Linked DNA regions of Homo sapiens: all the other regions are linked to region 5. The links are contacts of gene promoters, found by promoter capture Hi-C in blood cells and fetal thymus (Javierre and others, 2016). All regions are on one chromosome and are shown on one strand. Each heading gives the region's core, a stretch centred on a gene start or on the middle of the fragment in contact. The rest is flanking DNA. Distances are from core to core; before and after follow the strand shown. Region 1 overlaps COPS8 (COP9 signalosome subunit 8). Region 2 overlaps LOC124906127 (a long non-coding RNA gene). Region 3 has its middle 32 kb from the start of COPS8. Region 4 has its middle 77 kb from the start of COPS8. Region 5 holds the start of RAB17 (RAB17, member RAS oncogene family).

The links. Contacts are between HindIII fragments. The CHiCAGO score rates a contact against its expected background, and 5 or more counts as called.
Region 1: a fragment that was not itself captured here is called in contact with the fragment with the promoter of RAB17 in region 5 in 1 of 17 cell types (megakaryocytes); the score reaches 5.1 in megakaryocytes.
Region 2: a fragment that was not itself captured here is called in contact with the fragment with the promoter of RAB17 in region 5 in 1 of 17 cell types (fetal thymus); the score reaches 5.3 in fetal thymus.
Region 3: a fragment that was not itself captured here is called in contact with the fragment with the promoter of RAB17 in region 5 in 1 of 17 cell types (megakaryocytes); the score reaches 5.0 in megakaryocytes.
Region 4: a fragment that was not itself captured here is called in contact with the fragment with the promoter of RAB17 in region 5 in 2 of 17 cell types (fetal thymus and M1 macrophages); the score reaches 5.1 in fetal thymus.

The regions. Positions count from the first base shown.
Region 1 is chr2:237,094,957-237,098,997 of GRCh38, reverse strand. It overlaps COPS8 (COP9 signalosome subunit 8), which reads right to left. Exons shown (of 8, transcript NM_006710.5): 6 at 3,114-3,176; 7 at 2,129-2,176; 8 at 1-1,335. The coding sequence ends at 1,256. Among named protein-coding and RNA genes, the nearest start is that of COPS8, 11 kb to the right of the region's middle. The HindIII fragment of the contact is 1,129 bases long and covers 1,390-2,518 here.
Region 2 is chr2:237,141,112-237,145,046 of GRCh38, reverse strand. LOC124906127 (a long non-coding RNA gene) reads left to right here. Exons shown (of 2, transcript XR_007088143.1): 1 at 1-1,327; 2 at 1,576-3,935. Among named protein-coding and RNA genes, the nearest start is that of COPS8, 57 kb to the right of the region's middle. The HindIII fragment of the contact is 186 bases long and covers 1,342-1,527 here.
Region 3 is chr2:237,116,340-237,119,993 of GRCh38, reverse strand. No RefSeq gene overlaps it. Among named protein-coding and RNA genes, the nearest start is that of COPS8, 32 kb to the right of the region's middle. The HindIII fragment of the contact is 764 bases long and covers 1,286-2,049 here.
Region 4 is chr2:237,160,513-237,164,394 of GRCh38, reverse strand. No RefSeq gene overlaps it. Among named protein-coding and RNA genes, the nearest start is that of COPS8, 77 kb to the right of the region's middle. The HindIII fragment of the contact is 1,854 bases long and covers 514-2,367 here.
Region 5 is chr2:237,589,284-237,591,983 of GRCh38, reverse strand. RAB17 (RAB17, member RAS oncogene family) reads left to right here and starts at 1,250. Exons shown (of 6, transcript NM_022449.4): 1 at 1,250-1,517. It overlaps RAB17-DT (RAB17 divergent transcript), which reads right to left and starts at 824. Exons shown (of 3, transcript NR_187201.1): 1 at 717-824; 2 at 1-112. The HindIII fragment of the contact is 11,150 bases long and covers 1-1,915 here.

The sequences.
Region 1 (4,041 bases), core at 705-3,204, 490 kb after region 5:
TCTCCTGATCCTCTGACTTCTTGAATTCCCATTTCCTCAACTGTAAAACAAGGAATTTTAATATGACTTACCTATCCGGGTTAAATAAAATTGCAATTCAAAAAGTATTCCCATATATGTTAAGAAAAACTGAAATAGCCACTAAAATGCATTCAAAATAAATAAATTATATAATTATCACTACACAGATTCACCATACAACTCATTTCTACTTAAGAGATTCATATAGACACAATGACAAAATAGATTGTGTCCACAGAAAGATCGAGAGTGAAATTTCCAGAAACTATCTTAGATGAAATAATTGAAGAATTCAGTTAAATATTTATTGAACAAATGCAGAGTAAATGAACTAAGGGCTGTTATAACCTTAAGTTACAACAAACAACTTCAAATATTCAGAGGGCTGTCACACAGAGAATGAAAGACTTGCTCAGTATTTCTCCAAAGGGCAGAACTTGAGCCAAGCGATAAATATAAGCAACCAATGGGCTGCAGGATAGTTGTACAAAGTGTATCATGTATCTTCATAGCTTCTTTGCCCATATAATGCATTCCACACTTAAGTTTCTCCTTCTAAAAGGCGACAGCACAAGTTAATATGTCTCATAAATGTCTTAAATAAGTTGCATTTTCATGGCAAGCCCTCCACTGCCAGCAATGGATATACTCACACTATTGGAAAAAATCTAAAGTTAACAAACTGGTTTAGTATGGAAATGGTCTATTTGTTCCTCAGCTATGTTTCTGTATCTTACATTAGTGGCTCTCAGGAGGTGGGGGGTGAAAAGAGAGCATGTTCTCCAAAGAGGGTGAATCATAATCCCCAGTGATTCAGATACTGTGCCTGGGGACAATCTTTCTTCAAGTCCAAATGAATCATTATAATTATCAACCAATGGTACATATAAGAGTACGGCATGTGCTGGGACAGAGAAAAGACAGTTGACAAACACTATTCTACATGAAACAGGAAATCTTATTTTATGAGTCACTAGAAAACTAACTGTAATACTGACAGGCTCCATCCAGATTATTAAATACTACAAAATGAGAACTGTTTCAACAACTATTCAGCATAACGTTTATGGACAAAATGTATATAGTATATCTTATATTCTATATGTATTTTATCACATAGTAAGGAATGCTGAGGTGCTTAAGCCATCCAATAAATTGAAAATACAAACTTTACATTTCTACGTTTGTCAGTATACAGGATTCTGAAGATGAATCTTGAACTCAGAGTGATAAATCAGTTTTCAAGGAAAGCCACATAATCCGTCAGTCTGGCTAACTGCTGTTCATTGGGTATTGGGGGAACTGGAGCAGGCTCTGTATGTTAAAGAAACAAACACACTTCATGTTACATACCACAGTAACAAAGCTTTGGCCCCAACACCTACCTCCCCTAATGCCTTCAATTTTTAACAGTAAGTTAACTTTCTTAGATTTGTCCTGGTTTTAGACAAAATCTTACATCATAGAGGCTTGGACATTTTTGAAAAGCAAGCCAAGAAGTTGCAACTTTTATGAGTATGGTTTTACCTAACTGCTAGTAAAGGCATGTCTCATGTTGTTGTTACTGAAGTATTCTATGTAAAGGTTAAAGACACTTTTATCATGCAACATGTCTTTTAAAAGATCACAGCTCTTCTTGAAAACATCCTTACCCATGCAACATTAAATTCAAGAAATAGAGTGCTTCCCATGCCCCAGACATCACTGAAGAATATTAAATTGTCAACAAACCAAAAAAAAAAAAAAAAAAAAGAAAACCCACAAAGAACCTCAAGGAATTTACATTCCAACATTTAAATTACTACACGTCAGCCTGGGGACGCCTTCTGAATAACAGTACTGGTGAACAGCTCTGGCAGGCCTCCCTGACATGAGAATAAGAAGGCTCTGCAGCTGGCCCAGAGGAGGGCACCGCCTCAAGGCAAGCTCTGGGGGAGCCCAGTTTCACTCTTGTAACCAGATGTATTACTACGCATTTATGAAATTTAACCTCTGTTTACAAGGTAAGAAATAGATACACACACTCACACACACATATACATATATACTACAAAAAAGAAATTAGGAACAATGAGACATTAAAAAATGTGCATATGAAAATACATACCTGATAAGGGAATAAACTTGTTAAAGGAAACATCCAGGGCCCCTGCAACTAAATTCAAAAAAAAAATGTACAGCTCAATTTACAGAAGTCATTGTAAAGATCTTTCATAGAACATGCTATTTTCAGCACAACATGCATTTAACGGCCATTTATTTCTCAAACAGGGATAACAACTGTGCTCCATTATAATTCTTTATTATATTACTCTTCCCCCACTATCTCACTTGACTGGGATCATGTCTTCTCACTCTTTGTAACTCAAAGGGCTGAGCACATTGAGAATCCTTTACTGTATGTTCAGCAATGTCTAAACATAGGCATTCCGAGTAGGTGGAAGGAAATTTGGGCTGACGTGGATGAAGGCGGGTTTATGGAAGTGGGCATTAAGCTTGGCTCTAAAGACCTGGCAGAAAAGACACTCCTGGTCAGCAGGAGGAAGAGAAACTATCAGGCGGGAATGAGTGTGGCTCACTTCCAACAGGAAGACTGAGGGGCTGGGAATTCAGATAAAGACAATGAGGGCAGGTCATAGAAATTAAGGCCTTAAAAGGAGGGCTAGAGAAGTTAACTCTGTGAAAGTGGAAGCCACAGGAAAAGTGCCTGTATGACTTGAGTGCAAACAGAAAAGGGGGGCAGTTGAATATTTAAACATTTTTTTTTAATACAGACAACAGCTTGGATATGAAGGATAAGCTCAGTTACAAATGGCTCCATAAAAGGATGGAGATTAATATTTAGTAAAAACTAAGGTGTAAGGACCATGAAAAACCTACGTAAAATCATTTATATACAGGAAATACATTTTTAAGAGTTTAAACTAGGTGATCCTTTCTACCCCGTCTACTACGCTTTATTTAAAATGAGTTATTTCCATTGTGTTAGTATAGCCGAATTTTACATCCAATTATCAAAAACCAAAGACTGAAAACCTGAAGCAGTCTTAGAAGAGTCCAGTGCTGCGTAAATGGGTGAAAGCTCCACCTACCTGGCTTTCTGGGCAGAACCATTCTTGTGGTGGAATCAGCTTGCCATCCTTGTTCTAATATGCCTAAAAAAGTATATTACACATAAAGATCCGGAAAGAATAAAACACCCCACAAAATCCACAACTTGTCCATGACATTAGTTGTACAGAAGACCTGATGTGTTTAGTATAACCCGTCATATGCATTTTTACTAGAAAGGTATATTACAAAGAGCATGGAAACTTATTATTGAAATATTTCTGAAACAGGTATCAAAGCCTCATTTTACTCTATTAGGTTGCTATAATCATTAAAAGATGGTTAGTTTTCTGTCAAGAATATATTATAGTATTAACCTAATCAGTATTATTTAAAACAAACAGAAGGAAAACTGATATGGCGCCTTTTGTGACCATCATATCAGTAATAACAAAGATGGCAATAATAAAAACAGCTTCCATATATGGAAGGTTTACCTGTAGGTACCAGACTACGTGCTTTTATAGGGATGATTTTATGTAATCACCACAACTCTATGAAGTGGGATATAGGGCCATCGTTTGACAGGTATGGAAAATAAAGTTGAGGGAAATTCAAGTGATTTGTCCTAAGTCACATAGCCACTAGCATCAGGGACGGGTGGTACCAGCATTCACATCCAGGTGGTCAGCTGAGAATACGAGCTCTGAAGTATGTTATATATAGAAAATAAATGATGGACCAATTTTAAGAGCCAAAAGAAATAAATGTTTGTATGAGTAAATAAAAGTAATAACTTAGAACTTTCATTAACCTATCTTCATGTATCTACAACTATGCTAGGCCCTGGAAATTTAGGATGTAGTGCGTGATGGTGCTCATATTTTAGCTGGAGAATCAAAAATGTCAATCATGGCAAAACAATGCAACAAGGTGTATACGATATATATATATATTTTTGATATGGAA
Region 2 (3,935 bases), core at 185-2,684, 450 kb after region 5:
TCAGGAAGAGCTGGTGAAGGGTGAGTAGAGGAGGAGAATGTCCATAGGAGGAGATGCCCCAAAGAGAGGAATACTGTTGGGGTCTGAACTGCTTGGATGCATTTTTTTTTTCAATCCATCTCTCCTCAGACTATTGGAAGTGAGAGGAGAAGATTCCGTTAAGAGGGTGCCTGAGAAACTGCAAAGCTTAACGGTTAAGCAGAGGAGGGAGGAGTCTGTCTAAAAGGCAAACCAAGAGTGTTTAGTTCCAGAAGCCTAGATAAGAGATGGTTTCTACACACAAGAGTGTAGTCAGTAGTGGAGACTGCCACAGAGAGACCCAGCATGATGGGAAGGACCACAGGTGTCCACTGGATTGACTGAGGACAACAGTGGGAGCAATTCCAGTGAAGTTATGTAGGCAAATACTAGATTGAAGTGAACTGAGGAAGGAGTGAGATATGAGAACGTGGGGACTGTAAGTGAAGACAATTGTTTAGGGCAAGTTTATCTGTGAAGGGAGCAGGAAGACAGGACAGTACCTGCAGGGAATCAGATGGGAGTGGTGGGGGGTACAGCCTGTGTAGAGGATTATTTGTACTGGTGTTGGTGGTAGTTTTGATTGGTGTTGTTGATGGGGATTTCTTAGGTGCTTTTAAATATGGGAATGGCATGAACTGTTGAAAAGGGGAAAATACAAGCAAAATGTCAAAGACAGACAGCGGTGGGGGTCGACATGTTAGTGGTCCTTGGAATGAAGAAGTGGGATGGGATCCAGAGCAGGCAAAGAGGAGCTAGCTGCAGTCAGAAGAGGGACCACTCTTTCATTGTAATGGGGAAAAGGAAGAGGAGATTTTAAAAAAGACACAAGGGGGAGTGCCGATTTGGTGGTGCAAAGGTGAGAGTGCTCCATGTGACGGTTCCTATTTTCTCTGAGAAGGATGCAAGGTCATACATTGAGAGTAAGGGGTTGAACAGGGTCAGAGGATGGAGTAGACTGGAGACCATAAAGCCAAGTGAGGGAGATTCCCTCCAGACACTCTAAAGTCTGTGCTTCCACCTCTGTTCTTCTTTAAAACCACATATCATGGGTACCTATGACACTGATTTTCACAGCCAGTTTTTTTAAGTGCAAGAATTTTGCAATATGATATAAATTTGATGAATCATTGAATAGTTCTTTGTGTTCTGTTTCTCATGCTCCATCACTAACCCAGCCAAGATTTTCATTAAAAAAAAATTTCCAGACGTTGTTTATCAATCCAGGAGCTTGGCAAGAAAGGTCCACCTCTGTTCACACATGGGACAGACAAGACCAGTTTCTGACTGCCAGTAACTTTTACAAAAGGTGGGTATGAAGCTTCTCTCTCAAATTCTAATAATAAGAAGAACAATAATGTGTCAGATTTTATGTTCCAAGGACACATATTTGTACTCACATGTATTTATCCCATTTCATCCCTCCCAATGGGATGTGGGGTCTAGTTTCCCCCACTCAAATCTGGGCAGGGACTGTGATTGCCTGACCAATGGAGTATGGCAGAAGCTTGATGTTCCTGCTGGTTCTCTCTCTCTCTTTCTCTCTCTGGGTGTCAGGATGCTCACCTTTGGAACCAAGACACTATTATGTGAGGAAGCCCAAGCCACATGGAGAGACCCACACGGAGGAACAAGGCCTTTGCCAACAGGCAGCACCAATTAGCTAACTACACAAATGAGCCACCTTGAAGGTGACTCCTCCAGCCCCACTCTAGCCTTCGATGACTGCAATCCTGGCTGACATTTCACTGAACCTTCCTCAGAAAGCTCAGGCCAGAGCCACCCAGCCAAGGTGCCTGGGATTCCTGATCCACAAGAAACCATTTGTGGTAATAGTTATATTTTGTTGTTCTAAGCCCCTATGTTTTGGGGTAAGTCACTAGGATTTGTTTTGTAGCATCAGATAACTGAAATGAATGATAATAACAAATTTAACAAATACTATTTAAACATCTACCTCTGCCTGGGTTCTCAGTGCCTAGCACTGAATCTAGGGGAACTAGTTTGAAGTAGTAATCCTGAAATCACTAAGCTACGGTGCCTTACACACATCACATGTAATCCTCACAAAAATCTTATGCAGTAGGTGCTGAGATTAGACCTATTTTAACAGATGAGGAAACTGAGGTCCAGAAGTCACACAGCTGGTAAGTGGCTGGCCTGGCACAAGAACGGATGCATTGCTATCTCTGAGTCATATCTAAGATGATCTTCAGGATCTAAAGATATCCTTTCCCATTCCTCAGACTTCTTACCACAATCTGTCCCAGCTCAGGATACATACAGGTGAAGGATGGCATGTCACCAACTAAGGGGGATTATCCTATGAGCTTCTGGATAACTTGCCACCTTTGCCCTTGCCCTGTCAACTAACTGCCCCACTGCCAGTCCACCTCAATGTTGCTGTGCCTTTGAGGGTGTTGTCTGTGTCTGAATTAAGAAGGTAGACTGTGGGAAGAAGAAGACAGATCCTATAGGGAGCATCATGCATTAGGAAACAGAACACAGCTCTCAGGGTCCCCCATTGGTGATTTGTGCTTTAGCTGATGTAAGCTGAGCCACTCAGAGCACCCACGGCTTCCACCCACCCATGTGCTAAACCCCACCACCCTTTCCAAAATTGTTCCACAGCCCCATGCCCTTAGGAGCCTAGCATTCCAAGCTTGAGGCTCTTTGGGGCCTCCACTTTCTTCCCAGGAGGGGTTTTCCAATACATGCCCAATATGCACGAGTTGGTACATCCTTCCTTCCATCCAACCCATCTATGCAGTATGTTGAAGACACTTTCTGAAGCCTGTGGAGATCAACCTTCTCTGTTTCCCAGCACTAATTCACTTTTCAGCACTCTTCCTACATTTGTTCATTTTCCATGGGAATTTTGGAGAGAGAAAGTTTGACTTATGGGCTTGCCATCTTGAACCATGAATTGTAGATTTTTAATGGTAAAAGTATCTCCTCTGATGAGTAAGTTAATTTGGGATGGAGACCAGGGTTTTGGGCAGCCTGGCACAGAGAAGAGAAGCTGGGAGCGGCCCTGCCCAGGGCCTTTCTGACCTCACACCAATTTTCCACTTGGCTGCAAAGTAGCAGCTCTCCCAAGAGAACATGAGGACCTGGGGGCAAAGACTTGGGGTGTGGCCATGGTTGGAAACTCTAGCTCTCTAGATGGTTTTGCCTTTCACTGTGGTTAGAAAGGATACATAAATAAAGAGTACTAAGTATTCTATGTCTTGAAGATGCAATTTTCCCGCCCACAGCTAAGGGCTACTAGCCAACAGCAGTTCCCTGAAACCAAGGAAAAGATGGCCTGTGGGAACATGAGTCAGTGGCCTTGGCCTTGGGGAGGGCTCCAGTTAGGATCACTCAGCCTGTTCTTCCTCCCACCTCAATCTACTGGAACCTGCGTGTCAGGAAACCCACGATGATACAGTATTTATGGAAGAGCACATAGGTCTCTAAGGAACTACAGCGACATTCTGGGAGTCATGGTCTGCTCTGGGAAGTTTCAATGTGAATGAGACCAGTCTCAGGCTCAATCCCTACACCAGCCAGTTCACTCTTCCCTGATCTGTGACCGAAGGCTGTACTGTATCCCCACCCCAACGGCCATGTGCTACTGGCCTAATCATCTGTTGCCTCCCCCAGCCCATGGTCTTCTCAACCATGCAAGGAGACCCCATCACCACTGGGGCCAGCTCAAAGAGGCAGAGTAGGTCTGGCCTCCATAGCCCTCTGGCTTAAAGAGGAGTAGGATCACCGGAGGTCTTGCTAATGACCATTTTGGACAAATGACTTGTTTGTAGGCCTTGAAGCTGAGCCCATACTCTGGCCCTTCTCTCAGAACTAGGAATTCCAGAGCCTGTCCAAGGAGTCCTAGAGGCCTCTACTGGGGACCATCCCCTACAAGTCAGGCTTCT
Region 3 (3,654 bases), core at 418-2,917, 470 kb after region 5:
GGACTGGGGCTTCCAGGCGATGCCCAACTTGTGGTCCAGGAAGCACACTTTGAGAATATTTTTCACAACTGAACCTTTCATAAAACCTGGATACAGAGTGTTTGGGGTTAATTTTCTGATGAGAGCTGGGTGCTCTCACATTCTATGCGGCAGTCAAAGGCAGGGCCACATGGTTTGAATGTGCAGGGCCAACCTAACGGTCTCTGATGATATTAACAGGCTGGACCAGGGCTGGAGCTTGCAGCTAAAGCCACTGCACTTCTCCAAGCAGAGGGGCCATGGCACTGCTCACCCCCTAGCCATTCCCTTATGCCAACACTGCAGGTGACCGGCTTTTATTCTTAGTCGATGTCCAGGATAATTTTGTTAGGTTTTGTATATTTTAATTTTTGCTTAAATTTAGCATACATGTGGATTTGATCATTTAAACTGGTGAGTGACAAGTGTGTGACAAGCCCCTAAAATAACGCCTTGGCTGGGTCTTTTAAATAATTTTTGTTCTCTTCATCCTCACAAAATAACTAATGGGTACTGCGCTTAATACCTGGGTGATGAAATAATCTGTATAAGAAACCCACATGACACAAGCCTACCTATGTAACAAACCTGTACATGTACCCCTCAACTTAAAATAAACGTTAAAAATTGTTCTTAATTATTAGGAATTCAGCCTCTAATTCCCCATAGATTTTCTTCCTTGCCAAGTCTTAGTAAACTTATCCATTCCACTCATATGACAAAAGAACTGACGACTCAAGGGCCAAACAAACTATTTAAAAAGCAAGAACATGAAGAAAACCTTTTTTTCAAAAATATCTAATAACTCAAGAGCACTTCTTCGGCCCTTAGAAAAGACTTATTTAAGCCTTTGAAGGGACTGCGTTTCAGCCAGCAGTGATGGTGATCGGACATTCAAGGAATGAAGTGGTAGGAATGACCCTACACACCAAGTGAGTTATGGCAGCACATTGTAAACAACAAGACACCGGGTGACAGCGAGGAGTGAGAATCAAGCAGATGTTTGGCTCTGGCTAAGCACATGCTTTACACATCTCAACTCAAGAGGGTTTTCAAACACAGCATCAACCCCATGTGTTTGGTTTTCCTTGTCAGAGCCCTTCTGCTATCTTGAGGAAGGGATGGGTGGAAATACAGAAAAGCTGCCCTGCACAGATTCCTGCATCTACATCCACAGCTCCAGTCACATGAAAGACACCAGACGCAGCATCAAAACATTTAGCCAAGATAATGTTGACAATGTAAGATAATGTTGAAAACTAAAGCTTCCTAATCTTTTGAAGTTGGTCCATATTAAATTGCCTCAGGCAAAGTTAAGGCAGTTGAGGCCACACTCCCATATTTCCATTTACATTCTTTGTATTTTATGACAGAAATACATTGAAAATCTTGTTCACCAGTCTGCTAAAAATCAGGGTTATAAGGGGAGACATCCAACAGGCTTAAGGCTCCCAAATGGATTTGGAATTTTTTGGACCTTACTCGATTGACCTCATTCACTGCCCAACCTCACAAACAACCTAATTCAGTTTTCAAACCATGTTATTTAACCGACACAGGATAGCCATGAAGAGGTTCTTATTACCTTATGCATTATTATGCACTGGGCATTTTGCCCTTTGTCCTGAATTGCTCTTCTTAGAGATCAGGTGCAGGTGCACAATTAGGAGAACATTATTCAATCAAAACTGTTTTTGGCAATTCCTCCCATCATGTGACTCACAAGTTAAAAATGGTCCAGTTCCTCTTTCATTTAGAATGAAATCTTTTCCTGCAGCTCCACCCAGGAGAAAAAATCATGATTCACATTCAGGATGCACATATGCTGGTCAGGTGGGTGCACACAACATGCTCATTCAAGTCCACTCATTTCTTAAAAAGATGTCCAAAGACTCCTGGCTTCCCACTATCTCAATTGACCCAGGAGAATGTCATCAATCATTTACATGAATAAAATGTCCACCCTGGTTTTAGCTTGTCTTTAGATATTTGGATAAAACTACACAATCTTTTCCACTAATTTTGAAAGCTTCCTTTACTTAGAGAAGCAACAAATTCAGAGGAAAGTTACTACTTTGCTCAACCACAAATATGATGCAGATTACTCAAAAGTTATTGACTCTAGCAAAACGGCAAACCCTTACCTTTCTCCAACTGCAGTGATAGCAAGGGTTCTCAGGTGAGAGGAAATCCAGGCATGGCATTTGTTAACAAGGAGGTACTTACTCCAGTTCATGGGCTGCTCAGCTAAGAGGCAATAGATGCCTTTCTTCCCCCTGCTTTTCAATGCAGAGTTTAATTGTGGGTTGTAAAAATCCCCCAGACACACTAAAAGCTAGAAGACTCCTGGAAAACTGCTAATCTCTCCAGGAGGTGTATTTGCCCTTGCTGCTATCATTTGGATGGATGGGGGCAGTGGGGATGGATGCTATCAGGTGGAATTCTGTTCTTCCTGCTTTTGCTATAAAAGGTGGAGACAGGTTAAGGGGAGGGGAGTCCTGGTAACTGTCCTAACATAACCAGTGCCTGAACATTCCTTCAAAACAGCCTTGATCAGTGGTTATTGAACTTGGCTTCAACGGTATCTGACTGATGGGATCCTCACACTATCTGAGACCATCTAGACCATCACCAACTGATACGCACAAGTTGTGTGGCTACTGAGCACTTGGAATGTGGAAGTCCAAATTGGGCTGTGCCACAAATGTAAAATACACATGGGATTTCAAAGATGTAGTATAAAGAAAAGAATGTAAAATATCTCATTAATATTTTTGTATTGATGACATGTTGAACTAATAATATTTTTGATTGGCTAAATAAGATTGTTGTTAAAATTAATTTTATCTGTTTTTCTTTTTCACCTTTTTACTGTGGCATCCAGAAAATTTAAAGTTACATATGTGAGGTGTGTCTTCTAACTCTATTAGACAGTGCTGGTCTAGGCAGTTAAATAGCTCTTCTTTGTGTTGAGTCAAAACTGGTCTTTCTAACCTTCTTGATTTTGCCTTCTGAAGCAATAAACAAAATTATTCCACATGGTGGTCAGTCCAATATCTGAAGACAATCATCATCCCCACCCATCTTTTCTTCTCATGCTGAATAGCCTTTCCTTTTGCAAACATTCCTTCTATGACATGTGTTAAAAATTATTTATCCAAAACTTGGAAAATGTCAAAATGATTGTTGTTATCTTTCTGAACAATTTCTTTAATAAGCCCAGTTGACCTTCATTGAGCTCTCTCAGGGAGTGTAACTTTGATTTTACAGGGCTGTAAAACATCTGGTTCCTTATCAGTTACGGATAGTTGCTCTGAGTTTAACTTGCAGAAAGTAGAGAGTGAGAAATGTTCTTATAACCTGAGATGAAAGGCAAAAATTCTGCAAATGGATTTCTGGGAATTATGTGAGGACATTAAACTGAGCTTCTTCTCATGCCCCTGCATCTAGCTGTTGGGGACCTAACTCCATATTGGTTGTGGCTCAGTTTAGTGCATATTCCATCTCTTGGAAGAAAGCATGCCAACCCGTCATGCTAGTACAATTGCTGAGCCTTGAATAGGCCATTCCACCATTCTATTAAGCTAGATACTTCTGTGTAAGGAAAACTTAAAACCAATGAAACGGTCATGCACC
Region 4 (3,882 bases), core at 191-2,690, 430 kb after region 5:
GAAACGAGAGGATCATATGATCAACTCAATATATATAGAAAATACATTTAGTAAAACTTATCACCAGGAATACAAGAAAATTTCCTTAACCTGGTCAAGGCTTTAGGAGATCACAAGAAACCCCACATTAAATGGTGAGGCTATGGAAATACTCTCTTTAATTCCCTTAAATGTCAGAGACAAAAAAAACATTAACCTACTGTCTCAGTTTCTATTTATCATTTTACTGGAAGTTCCAGACATTGAAATAGCAAAAGAAAAATTAAATAAGAGGTAAAGAAATTGAAAAAGAAGAAACCAAATTGTCATTATTGGCAGAAGAAATAATCACTGACATATGAAATCAAAAGATTCTATGTACTATTATTCTTAAAAGATGAATTCAGCAAGCTCTGGGATAGCAGATCAATATTCAAAAAGCAACAACATTCCTGCACACCAGAAAAGACAAATCACAGAATGTAACAAAGTTAAATACTGATTGCACTCACGGTAACATAAAGTTCAAAAGCTTCAAGGAATAAGTAAAAATAAAAGATGTTTGGCAAGAAAATAATAAAATTGCATTGGAGGATATCAAACATGCCTTAAATAAATGGTGAGAGGGAGAGAAAACCAGAGAAGGAGAAAAACTATATTCACGGATAGGAAGATTCAAATTATCTCCCAGATTAGTGTGTAAATTTAATACTAGGGCAATACAACTCTTAACAGGGTTTTTAATAAATGTGACAAGTTGATTCTAAAGTTTGCATGAAAAAGTAAATAGGCCGGGCATGGTGGCTCACGCCTGTAATCCCAGCACTTTGGGAGGCCAAGGCAGGTGGATCACCTGAGGTCAGGAGTTCAAGACCAGCCTGGCCAACATGGTGAAACCTGTCTCTACTAAAAATATAAAAAATTACCTGGGCATAGTGGCAGGTACCTGTAATCCTAGCTACTTGGGAGACTGAGGCAGGAGAACCACTTGAACCTGGGAGGCAGAGGTTGCAGTGAGCCGATGTCATGCCATTGCACTCCAGCCTGGGCAACGAGAGCGAAATTCCGTCTCCCCCCACCAAAAAAAAAAGTAAATAGCCCCAAATGGCCAAACTATTTAGAAAAGAATGCGAAGAAAGGACTCACCCAAATATTGAGACCTAGTATAAAGCTCTAACATTTCAAACAGTGAGTTTCTGACTCCAGTAAATATAAATATTGCTGATGGAGCAGAACCAAGAGCCAAGAAAGATACCCACACACACACAGGAACTTAGATATGACCACGATGGTATTTGAAGATCAGTGAGAGAGGAACAGAAAGTTTAGAAAATAGAGCAAGGACAACTAGATCAAAGACTTAAATGTAAATCGTATAACTTGAAAACTTTTAGAAGAGACTAAAAGAAAATATTGTAACTTTAGAGCAAAAGAACACTTCTTAAAGAAAACACACATGGAGAAAAAGAAAGATAAATCTGACTAACTAGAAATTGAAAACTTCTTCACAACAAGGAAATGCCAAAGTTAAGTCACTGTTTAAGGGAAGCTACATAAAACATTTATGATCTAATCAAAGATTAGTGTTTGGATTCTATAAAGAAATCCTTCAGGCCAGGTGCAGTGGCTCACACCTGTAATCCCAGCACTTTGGGAGGCCGAGGTGGGCAGATCACGAGGTCAGGAGATTGAGACCATCCTGGCTAACACAGTGAAACCCCATCTCTACTAAAAATACAAAAAATCAGCCAGGCGTGGTGGCGGGCACCTGTAGTCCCAGCTACTCGGGAGGCTGATGCAGGAGAATGGCATGAACCTGGGAGGCAGAGCTTGCAGTGAGCCGAGATCACACCATTACACTCCAGCCTGGGCAACAGAGGGAGACTCCGTCAAAAAAAAAAAAAAAAAAAGAAAAAAAAGAAATCCTTCAAAATAGGTATAGATGGATGGGTGGATAGATAGATAGAAATAGATATACTGAAAGATAAACACTCTAATAGAAAAACAGACAAAAAGCATCAGTAGTCAGTTGATAGCAGAATATACCAACATGGCTAACAATCTTTTGAAAAGATATGCAGCCTCACAAGTTGTTAATTAAAACAAGCTGAGATACTACTTCTCATCTTTCCAGATGGCCAAATTTTAAGACGGGGCACTAAAAAAAACAGAATAATCAAACAAAACTAGTTTTGCAAAGGTTTTCAACTAGTTCTCAAATATCATCAGACCCACAAATACTGTATGTGGCCTTAGTGTACCCGCCACTGAAATTGTTGAATAGGATGCCCTGGATCTACCACTGCTCCTGTTTTTACTCCTTCCCTGACATGCCCTGTCCCTCCCTGAAGCCCCACAACTACCAGCCTAGGTTCTCAAAACAAAGCTTTTAAAAAAAATATCATGCCCTGTTGGGGGCAGGTACTAACTTGTTCCATTTTGGGACAACCACCCTTCTCCAGATGAGGACAGATGACCTTCCAGGTAGCATGGTCACAGGCAGAAGGGCTCTCCAGTAACCTCATTCAAAGGAATGTCTAGAGTGGGGGTTTCAGACCCTAGCACCACCCGTGAAGCAGATCTTTGAAAGACAGGAGATTCTTTGGGAAAACCTCTTAAATCGCACACCTAAGCTGAGGGCTGTCATGGAGCCTGGCCTCCCTCCTCTGGCAGCTGCTGTCCACGTCGCAGAGCCACAGAAGGTCCAGGCATCACCAGGCTCCCATCCCAGCTCCCATTGTTCATTAGTAAGGGACTCCTGGGTGTCCTGCCCACCTTCCTTCCTAAAGCTCCCATTACAGAGGGAGAAGACGTTTTTGGCTTTTCAATCTAACTTTGCTTCTTTCCTGCTCCTGCCCTGCCAGATGCTGTCATCCCTCTGGACACATCACGCCTCTCCTCCAGATCCTAGCCTCTTGGGGGAGGTCTTTCATCATTTGGACACACTGAGGAGGCTCCAGAAGGAAACAGTGTGCAGCATTTGGACCCTGCGGTGAAGTTGCTGGGTCAAAGCTGGATCTGCCGTTTCCCGATTCCTCCTGATGACTTCTCATGTGATGTTGGCTGGATATTCATCGTTTATTTGTTCCAAGTTTCTGTACTAAACTATATGGGCCAGTTCTCAATTAAAATCAGCTGTCATGTGGCATGTCTTCTTCCAGTTTTCACAGAACCTAGGGATGGGCCACCACAGGGGTGTGGGAAAGTGGTACAAAGGTGTTTGTGATTAGTCTCCATCGGGAACCTCCCTCAGGAGCCCATATCCTTTCCTCCAAACCTCTCTCTTCACTCAACAAATGACTCTAACTTAGTCCTCATTTTGGTTGTTTACAAAACAGTCTGATAGAAGAGAATATAAAATGAAGGAACTAACGATCATCCATAATTCAAAATAATCAAAGGAAAACGTTTTAAATCTTTTGGAGCATTTTTCTTTCTCTGTGGGAACTGCCCCACAGCGTGTATGAGAACTGCACCTCACATTTCTCTTTATGAGCCTGAAGTTCTCCTCTACACCCCTAGGCTCCCCACACCACAGCCCCCTCCGCATCACAGCTATTGGCTTAGCCTCTGGGCCTCACTGCTGGCCTTGGCCCGTGGTGGCACCGGTCAGGACCTTGGATCTAGGCCCCACCAAGGCTTGACCAGGGGCCTCCCGCCAGCCTCAGCAACCTGCGCCTGCCTTTCCCTAGTCAGCATGGAGTTCTTTACTTTGTCTCCCAAAGGGGAAGCCATGTCTCTCCATCTCCTTCCAGCCCACACTCTGAGGGAACCTTGCCAAGGCCGCACAGAAGTGGTCTGGAGGATCTTTAGGGCCTGTGGATAATCAGGATTGGGCCCAAACACCTGGACTCTGCTCTCAGGAGGAGTTCTCTAGCCACTCCCAAGGAGTCCAGGTGGCCA
Region 5 (2,700 bases), core at 1-2,500:
TCGAGCCACCGCGCTGGCCTCTTTTTGCATTCTTGCTATAAAATTGGTATTTGTATCTTCCTCCCATTCTGCGCTCCCCCAACCCTGCAGGAAGGTGGATTCTTCAAGGGAACTGGAGAGAAGAGAAGCACATTCATGTATTTCCACATTCAGCCTCCATCTCACGAGTTACACCATTCCCAGCACGTCACCACCCCCAGACCTTTGGTTACCAGCCTGGGGGCAGAGGATAAGGACGTCATTCAAAAATAGAGAGATTCTCAAGCCTCCAGAGTGCGGGGGCCCAGCCGAGCATGCTGGCGGCTTCCAGGGAGGTGGCCACGCCCCAGGGGAAGTGGTTGCATGGAGGAAGAATCTCAGAGGAGGCTTGGACGTGGTAGAGCAACGCTAGTCCTGTGTTAGGACTGGCTAGTCCGTCCTGCAGGGATGAGGGGCAGAGCCTCAGCAGAAGTCCAGGCCAGTGTCCCCCCTCCAGCATAAGAGCCCCCCACTCCCACAGGGCGGAGGAACCACTGTGGTGGCGGAGCTTATTTCCCAGCAGCCCCGCGGGATGAGACCCAAACGAGAAGTTAGGGTGAGTTTGGAGGACATAAAGTGAGCTGGCTTCCCGTATACTGGCTGTGTGGAGTAATGTTCACGGCAACAGATTTCCATCTCCTCAGCCTCAGGCCCAACCCTGCTACCCCAGCCATACTCAGAGGCTCTGGAAATCTTACCTGGAGGAGACTCTTCTGTTACCACCAAGCCAGGAAGTTTCATGGCTTGGGAAGACCAAGAGGAAGTCCACCTCCCCCTCTCCTGCACCTGGAGTCTCCCATGTGCACGGAGGCCACGCCCCCACCCCGCCCTCAGGTGGCATCAGCCCAGGATCTGACCCTGGACTGGCTCACACTCAGTTGCCTCTGGCCAGTGCAGGGCTCAGCCAGGGATGGCTTCTAGCTGACAGTGGGAGGAATTAATTCATCTGACCGGAATATTCTTTTCTCTTCTGGGCTGTTGGTTTTTCAAGTGCAACAAAGATTCCATACAGCTCCAAGGAAGGAGCCAAGAAAAACATTCTGTGCCAAAGTGAGATCCTGGAAGTGAAACCCCGGAATAAAGCTGAAAAACGGGCTCCAGTTGGGTGCCAGGAAATGCAGGACTGGAATGTGACTTGACTTCCGGCAGCGCGCAGGTGCTCCCGGGTCACCTGCTTTGAGGTCCAGCCTCCTGCCCTGCCTCAGGTGACCACATGACCACTGTGGACTTTGCCCTGAAACCTTCTGGGAGGAGAAGAGGCCTGACCTTGGCGCTGGGGTCCAGTGGGCATTGCTCTGGTCCGAGGCTGCTGCTCTTGACCTCTGCTCTGCGGCTGTTTTCCATTGGAGTAGAGGCTCCTCCTGTCCTGTCCTGCCTGTGGAGGGAAGCAAACCTTCCCCTGGACCAGAGAGAGGAGAAAGCGGAGACAGGTAGCAACGCTGTGGACTGGTGATGACAGGCTCTTCAGCTCCCTGCAAGTGACCGGGCCTGGGGAACAGGTGAGTCATTGTTTAAACCTCTGTGCCCTTTGTGGAGTGTCTGCCTGTGTGTGTGTGTGTCTCTGCTTCTCTGTGTGTGAGTCTCTGTGTGTCTGTGTGTGTGCTCACGTGTTTGTACCCATGTCTGTATTTGTTTGTGTCTGTGCATGTGCCCATGTGTGTATAATCAAAGGACAAAGCTGGGGCGGAGACTTCCTAGTTCAGATTTCTGATGGCTCACTAAGTCGGATTCCCAGAAGGAGATTCTTATTTGCATTTTTCTTCGGGAAAGTTCCGGTTTTAAGGTCTTGAAAAAAAAAAACACAAAAAACTTCTGGTAATGAGAAGAACTCTTAAAGAAATCCATTTCAAATGACATCAACATTCCCAATTTAATACCCAGTGATATCTAGGAAGCTTGTCAGGTTTTCTTGTAAACTCCTTTTTACAATCTACATTGTGTTTTCTGTATCAGATGGCTGTATTCTGAATGCAATGTACAGGTGTACCTCTCGTAATCTCAATATTCTTCACAGGCCCCAGGCAAGGGTGACACAGGATCACAGTTGCCGATAGACTCATCAATCAGACCCTTCCCTGGAATGGCCCCTTCCCCGCAAAAAAGACTAATGTGGGATTTGCTCTCCGTTTTTTTTCCCTTTAGTGGAAGGGAGGTGCAAGAGATTAAAAAGCCCCAAGTTAAGATTACTAGAGAAGCGCCAGTCTTGAATATGGTGTTCCTGAAAACATCTTTGTCTTCAACAACCTAATAACATCTTTCACTACTAATAACCCCATCTTGATTAAATTCTGGAGGTGGGGGTCAGGTGCCACACTTTTAATTTTCTCTTTGGACAGAAGGCTCCAACCTCTCATTATTGAAAGCTTACAACACTCAATCACACAAAAAGTTATATAAGAAAATGTTTACTGCAGTCTTATTACAGAGAAAAAATTAAAACTAAGTAAAAATCCAGTATTAGGAAAATGGTTCAGCAAGTTGAGATAGTTGTAGAAATGTTATATGTCCATTAAACATGATTTTGAAGCAATGTGTGAGACTGCCTTTGGTATTAAGTATTTCTTACCCATCGGATAATAATTTTATGTTAAAACTATGGGTTTTGGTTTGTTTTTAGGAGTCATAGAAAAAAACTAGAAGTAGGCAAAAATACCATTTGTGGTTGTATTACGGGGGTGGAGT